Regions from separate parts of the Homo sapiens genome. Here region 1 is linked to region 2. The links are contacts of gene promoters, found by promoter capture Hi-C in blood cells and fetal thymus (Javierre and others, 2016). All regions are on one chromosome and are shown on one strand. The core of a region is centred on a gene start or on the middle of the fragment in contact, and the rest is flanking DNA. Distances in the headings are between cores, read along the strand shown.

The links. The method cuts DNA at HindIII sites, captures the fragments that hold promoters and counts their contacts. A CHiCAGO score of 5 or more calls a contact.
Region 1: a contact is called between the fragment with the promoter of MTMR12 here and the fragment with the promoter of PDZD2 in region 2, in 10 of 17 cell types (non-activated CD4 T cells, total CD4 T cells, activated CD4 T cells and 7 more). The highest score is 24.5, in non-activated CD4 T cells.

What each region holds. Positions count from the first base shown.
Region 1 is chr5:32,311,512-32,314,211 of GRCh38, reverse strand. It overlaps MTMR12 (myotubularin related protein 12), which reads left to right and starts at 1,273. Exons shown (of 16, transcript NM_001040446.3): 1 at 1,273-1,454. The coding sequence starts at 1,374. RefSeq lists an enhancer at 805-854 and silencers at 945-1,734, 1,805-1,944. The HindIII fragment of the contact is 10,159 bases long and covers 1-2,700 here.
Region 2 is chr5:31,637,811-31,640,539 of GRCh38, reverse strand. It overlaps PDZD2 (PDZ domain containing 2), which reads right to left and starts at 1,409. Exons shown (of 25, transcript NM_178140.4): 1 at 1,103-1,409. RefSeq lists a silencer at 1,106-1,455. The HindIII fragment of the contact is 6,072 bases long and covers 1-2,729 here.

The DNA of each region.
Region 1 (2,700 bases), core at 24-2,523, 670 kb before region 2:
TTTCTCCATGTTGGCCAGGCTGGTCTCAAACTCCTGACTTCAGATGATCCACCCGCCTCGGCCTCCCAAAGTGCTGGGATTAGAGGCGTGAGTCATCGTTTGTCTCATTTTTGTTTACATTTAAAATAATAAACCTTGAGGTCGGGCGCGGTGGCTCACGCCTGTAATCCCAGCACTTCGGGAGGCCGAAGCGGGTGGATCATCTGAAGTCAGGAGTTTGAGACCAGCCTGGCCAACATGGTGAAACCCCCGTCTCCATTAAAAATACAAAAATTAGCGGCATGGCGCGGTGGCTCATGCCTCTAATCCCAACACTTTGGGAGGCTGAGGCGGGCGGATCACGAGGTTAGGGGTTTGAGACTAGCCTGGCCAACATGGTGAAACCCCGTCTCTACTAAAAATACAAAAATTAGCCGGGTGTGATGGCAGGCGCCTATAATCCCAGCTACTCGGGAGGCTGAGGCAGGAGAATCGCTTGAACCTGGGAGGCAGAGGTTGCAGTGAGCCTATACTACGCCATTGCACTCAAGCCTGGGCGACAGAACGACACACACACACACACACACACACACACACAAAATTAGCTGGATATAGTGGCGGGCGCCTGTAATCCCAGCTACTCAGGAGGCTGAGGCAAGAGAATCGCTTGAACCTGGGAGACGGAGGTTGCAATGAGCAGAGATCGCGCCATTGCACTCCAGCCTGGGCGACAAGAGCAAAACTCCGTCTCAAAAGTAAATAATAATAAAATAAAAAACCTTGAACGTCATCGCTGTAAGTTGGGAACTCCTATAGCAAGATTCCATACATCCCATTTTTGGACGTTTTATTCCAAAGACACAAGCAAACGGAAGAAAACGACTGCCGTGAACCCCTGCTAACGACAACTTGGTGACTGCAGGATCATTGGACGACGGTTTTATCCTCGCCATCCAATCGTTGGAAAGTCCGGAGAGAACGCTCTCTGGATTGGTTGGAGGAAACATCTCTCCAAGTGCACTCAAGAATGGGTTGGGAGCGGGGTTCGGCCGGCAGCGCCTCGGGCCAATCAGAGAAAGCATGAGGGCGGGCTCTGCCGCAGGAAGGTGGTGAATCTCGGCGGGTCAAACTCTCCTGACGTGATGGGGGGGCGTGGCCTCCAGTTGCGGTCTCCCGGCTCTCTGGGCCCGCGCACGGGATGGGCGGGGCCCACGGGCCTGGGCGGGGCGAGCGGTGTCAGCGGCGGAGCCGGATGCGGGCGGCATCGCGGCGGTCGCGGCCTTGGGGATGGGCGGAGCCCCAGCCGCTAGTGCTGGTGGCCGCCGCTGCTGCCCCAGCTGGAGCCCGAGCCGCCGCCTCTGCGTCCGCGCGTCGCTGCTTCCCAGGGCGGCGGTATGCTGGGGAAAGGAGTAGTCGGCGGTGGCGGCGGCACCAAGGCCCCCAAGCCCTCCTTCGTGTCGTACGTACGCCCTGAGGTGAGGGGGCGCCGCGCAGGCGGGGCGTCGGGCAGGGGCGGCCGGGGCGAGGGGCGCCGGGAGCCCCTTCCTTGCAGCGGGGAGCGCCGCGGAGCGCTTCCTGCCCTTGTGCCGGGCGACGGGGCAGCCAGGCGGGCTGAGGCCGCAGGAGCGCGCTGGGGCCTCCGCGCGGGCCGGAATGGGGACCCCGGCGCAGGCAGGCAGGTGCCTGAGCGCAGGGCCCGAGCGCTGGAGGCTGGTGGAGGGGCCCGAGCCGAGAAGGGATTGCGGCCCGGAACGCCCCTGGGGATTCTGGAGAGGACCTGGGGTTGTGGGCACTGCTGGGAGGGGTAGGGCCGTGGGTCGGAGCCCCCAACGGGGCCTGCTCGGAGCCCGCGTGGGTCCGTCCTGCCTCTGGACTTTCTCAGTGAGCCCAGAAGCCCGCCGGCCTCCGCTGCCTGCGTCTGAGTGCCTCGGGTGCGGCTGGCGGGATGCCCTGCACCTACGTCCGCCTCCCGTCAGCGCTGCGGGGAGAAAAGGGGGTCGGCCTGGCCTCAGCCAGTCTCTGCTTGTCTCTCCCTTGGGAATTCTCCGCTGTCGCTTCTTTCTCCTCATCCCCTCACCATCATCCTTTCCACCCACTTCTTACTCTTCTGAATCTTCAGGTCAAGAAATTTGTTCATTCATTCAGAAAATACTTCTCGAGCTCCTACTGTGTGTCAGGCACTAAGTGCTTGTGATAGACATCAGTGAACAGGACAGAGATCTCTGCATTCCTGGAGCTTATTTGAGGGGGAAAGGAGAAACGGGGTGAATTATAGATAATTAAGTAAATTATACGGTGTAGTAGGAGGTGATAAATATCATGGGAAAGAAAAGAAATCTTTTTCCTCCTCGCAAAGGTGGCATTTGAGCCGAGACTTGAAGATACGAGAGGTCTGAGAGAAGAGTCGTCCAGGTAGAGGGAACAGCCCCCGGGAAGGTCGTGAGGTGGGAGTGTGTCTGAAGGGTTGGCGGAGCGTCAAGGAAGCCAGCATGGCAGAGGCCCATGGACAAGGGGGACAGTCATAGGAGAGGAGGTTAGAGAGATCAGAACTTGTAGGCCTTGCTCAGGGCTTCTTGAGCAATAGTTCTTAATCCAAATGCCTAATGAGAAGCCTTCTTGTTTTGCATCTGTAAAGGTTTTTTTCTGCCCTTCTCTCCAGCAGAAGTGCAGAAGCACCGCCAAATTTGTTGCAGATGTCTTCCCACCTCTGTAATGCAGAAG
Region 2 (2,729 bases), core at 160-2,659:
AGGGCATCACTTACTGCAGCCACTCAGCAACCACTTCCAGTAGTTTCATTGCGATTTGTCAAGGCAAACATATCCACCTACCCTACCTTTGGTGGAGGCAAGAGGTTAGGCCAGCTGCAGGGGACAGACTCAGACTCAGCTCCATCCCCCAACACTGCCCAACGGCCAGTCCCAGGGCAGGTCTGGAGCTCTGGAATGCCCTCGTGCCTGCCATTCCAGTCTCTGCGACCAGCCCATGCCAGACCTTGTCCTCTTCCCACTCCAGTGTCCCTTATCAAGGTCTCTGCATAGATTTGGGCTGCCGAGGACAGCTTCTGGCAAACTCCTGCCAGGGGTCCTGGACCCTCCTGCTGCTGAATTCAGCCTTGCGCTTTAATGGATTTTCCAAATAGCGGGGACCACAGGCAGCTCAAAGACTTAAAACACAAACGCAAACCCGAGGGAGGGAGAGAGGAACAGAGGGAGGGAGAAACCAGATTTTAGGAGAAACTCGACTTCAGAGAGAGAGCAGGATTTCCCTATCACTATGTTCCCCATCTCCCCGGCAGACGCCAATAACCGGCCCTAAGATGCCCTTGATCTTTGCGCGCCCCCTGCATTCCCTCGCCCCGCGTCTAACGTCTCATCTGGGCAAAGAGGCGGGGGTTGAGAGATGAAACAAGCCCGAGGGAGGATGGTCCCCAAGACATTACCTGAGGCCGGAGTACCTGAGTACCTCCACTCCTGTCGGAGGAAGGGACCAGAAGACGGCCCAGGGATGGGGACCCGGGATGCGCGCCCGAGCAGGAGGTCCCGGCCCTGTCTTGAGTACCCCCGGCAGTGCGTCTCCGGTTGTCCCGCTGTCTCGGTCCCGCTCTGTCTAGCCCCCTCCCCTGGGCTGCGCCCTCCCCGTCCCCGGCCGGATGCTAGAGGAGTTTGCGCCGCCCAACGTGGGACCCCGGTTCGGCGTCCTCACTCCCCGCCCTGCCAGGGCTGGGATTCCCGCACCCGGATTTGTAGCTAAACTTTCCTGGGCACACACGGTCTCGGGGGTGCCGGGCCTCCCCCATCCCCTGCCCACCCGGAGCCGCGCGTCCCGGCTGCAGCGGGACGGTCGCTTCACCTGCTCGCGGCTTGGCCGAGGCTCCCGCGGCTTCCTCGCGCGTCCAGACCCAGGCGCCGCCCGGCGGGTCCCCGCGCAGCTGCCGCCACCGCGGCCACCACCGGTGCCGCCGCCGCGCCTGCCCCGAGCTGCAGAGCCGCGGTTCGCCGGCAGCCGCGGGAGGCGCAATCCCGGTGCCTTGGGTTCGGCCTGCGGCTCCTCGGCTGCCTGCAGCCGCCGCCCCGCCGCGTCCCGCTGCCCGGGGCCGGCACGCACCGGCGCTGGGGTCCGCTCCTCGCCTCGCTGCGCAGGGGATCCGCCGAGCCTCCAGGATGGGCGGGGATTCCCTCCCCCTGGTTGATTCGAGGGGCGGGAACTCCCTTCCCCGAGTGACAGGGACGGGGGGCGGGGATTCCCCTGCAGGAATAACAAGGTGGGCGGGGATTTCCCCGAGCGAGCCCCGCCGCGGGCAAGGCGTCTCTCTGGGTGAGCCAGGAGTCCTGGTGCGCCCGCTTCAGAAACCTGGGGATCGTGGGAGGAAGGCATCCAGGGAGATGGCTGCTCCGAATCTCCATACAGGCGGGGCTTAGGGCGCCATCTAGGTGGAACAGAGCGAGCTAGGGGACGTGAAGTTGCCTCTGCATAGCACTTTACACAGCAAAGAGAAAAATGTCAGTTACCTTATCAAAGAATGGGGCGGAGGGGCCACAGGAGATGGGGGAAGAGCTAACCACTCACCCCAAGCTACCCTTAGCCTCTGGTCCTTGGGATACCAAAGGTAATTTAGCACTGGTACGAGGATTTCGGGGAGAGGGGACCTCTTGGCACCTCAGAGCTGCTTAATCCCCCAGTTAAGCCCCTGGGGGGGAATCCCATGGCCCTGGGGTGGTGGTTTTGGTCCCATGAGCACTAGCCACGAGCTCCTGCCGAGTGGACTGTGAGAGCTAATGCCAGCCGCCCTTGGCTCCCGTCCAGGTCACTCGAGGAACCGAGCCTCAGGCTTTTGGGATCCTTCATTCCGGTGGATTTTCAGGAAGGCCTTCAAATATTTTTGGTTCTTTTTTTGTCATCCTTGTCATTCTGCCTACCAAAGGGAGAGGATGATAAGAACATAATAGGAAGACTGCACAGCTCTGCAAATTAAGCTCTCTTAAGAGGAAAAAGCTGGTCTTTTTCAAGTGCTGGCAGATAAGAGTAAAAACATATGAAAAATTGCAAAACCTGGGATAATGAATAGTTGAATAATGCTTTTGACATTTTCTACAGAACAGTAATTGGAAATCTTTGCTTTCGGGGGGATGGGGATGGGACAGGGCAGGCCCCAGCTGCAGTTCTGCCCAGCAAGGCAATAAACTCTGGCCTCTCCGAAAAGCAGGCAGACATAAATCACCTGCGCAGACCGGACAGCGCTGTCCCACCACACCAGAGACCAGAGTGGGCCCAAGGCATTTGGAGGTGGTATTGTCCTCAGGGGCTGGGGTGGAGAAGTTCTTGATTTCAGCTGTTCTTCAGCTTTTATAATTACCAGGCCATTGAGATCAATGCTTGCACAAATCCAAGCATCGTATATGACAAGCTGGGCACTCAGGCACTCAGAGCTTCTCTTCCTATGTGTAAATAGAGAAAACACCTACCATGCAGGATTGCT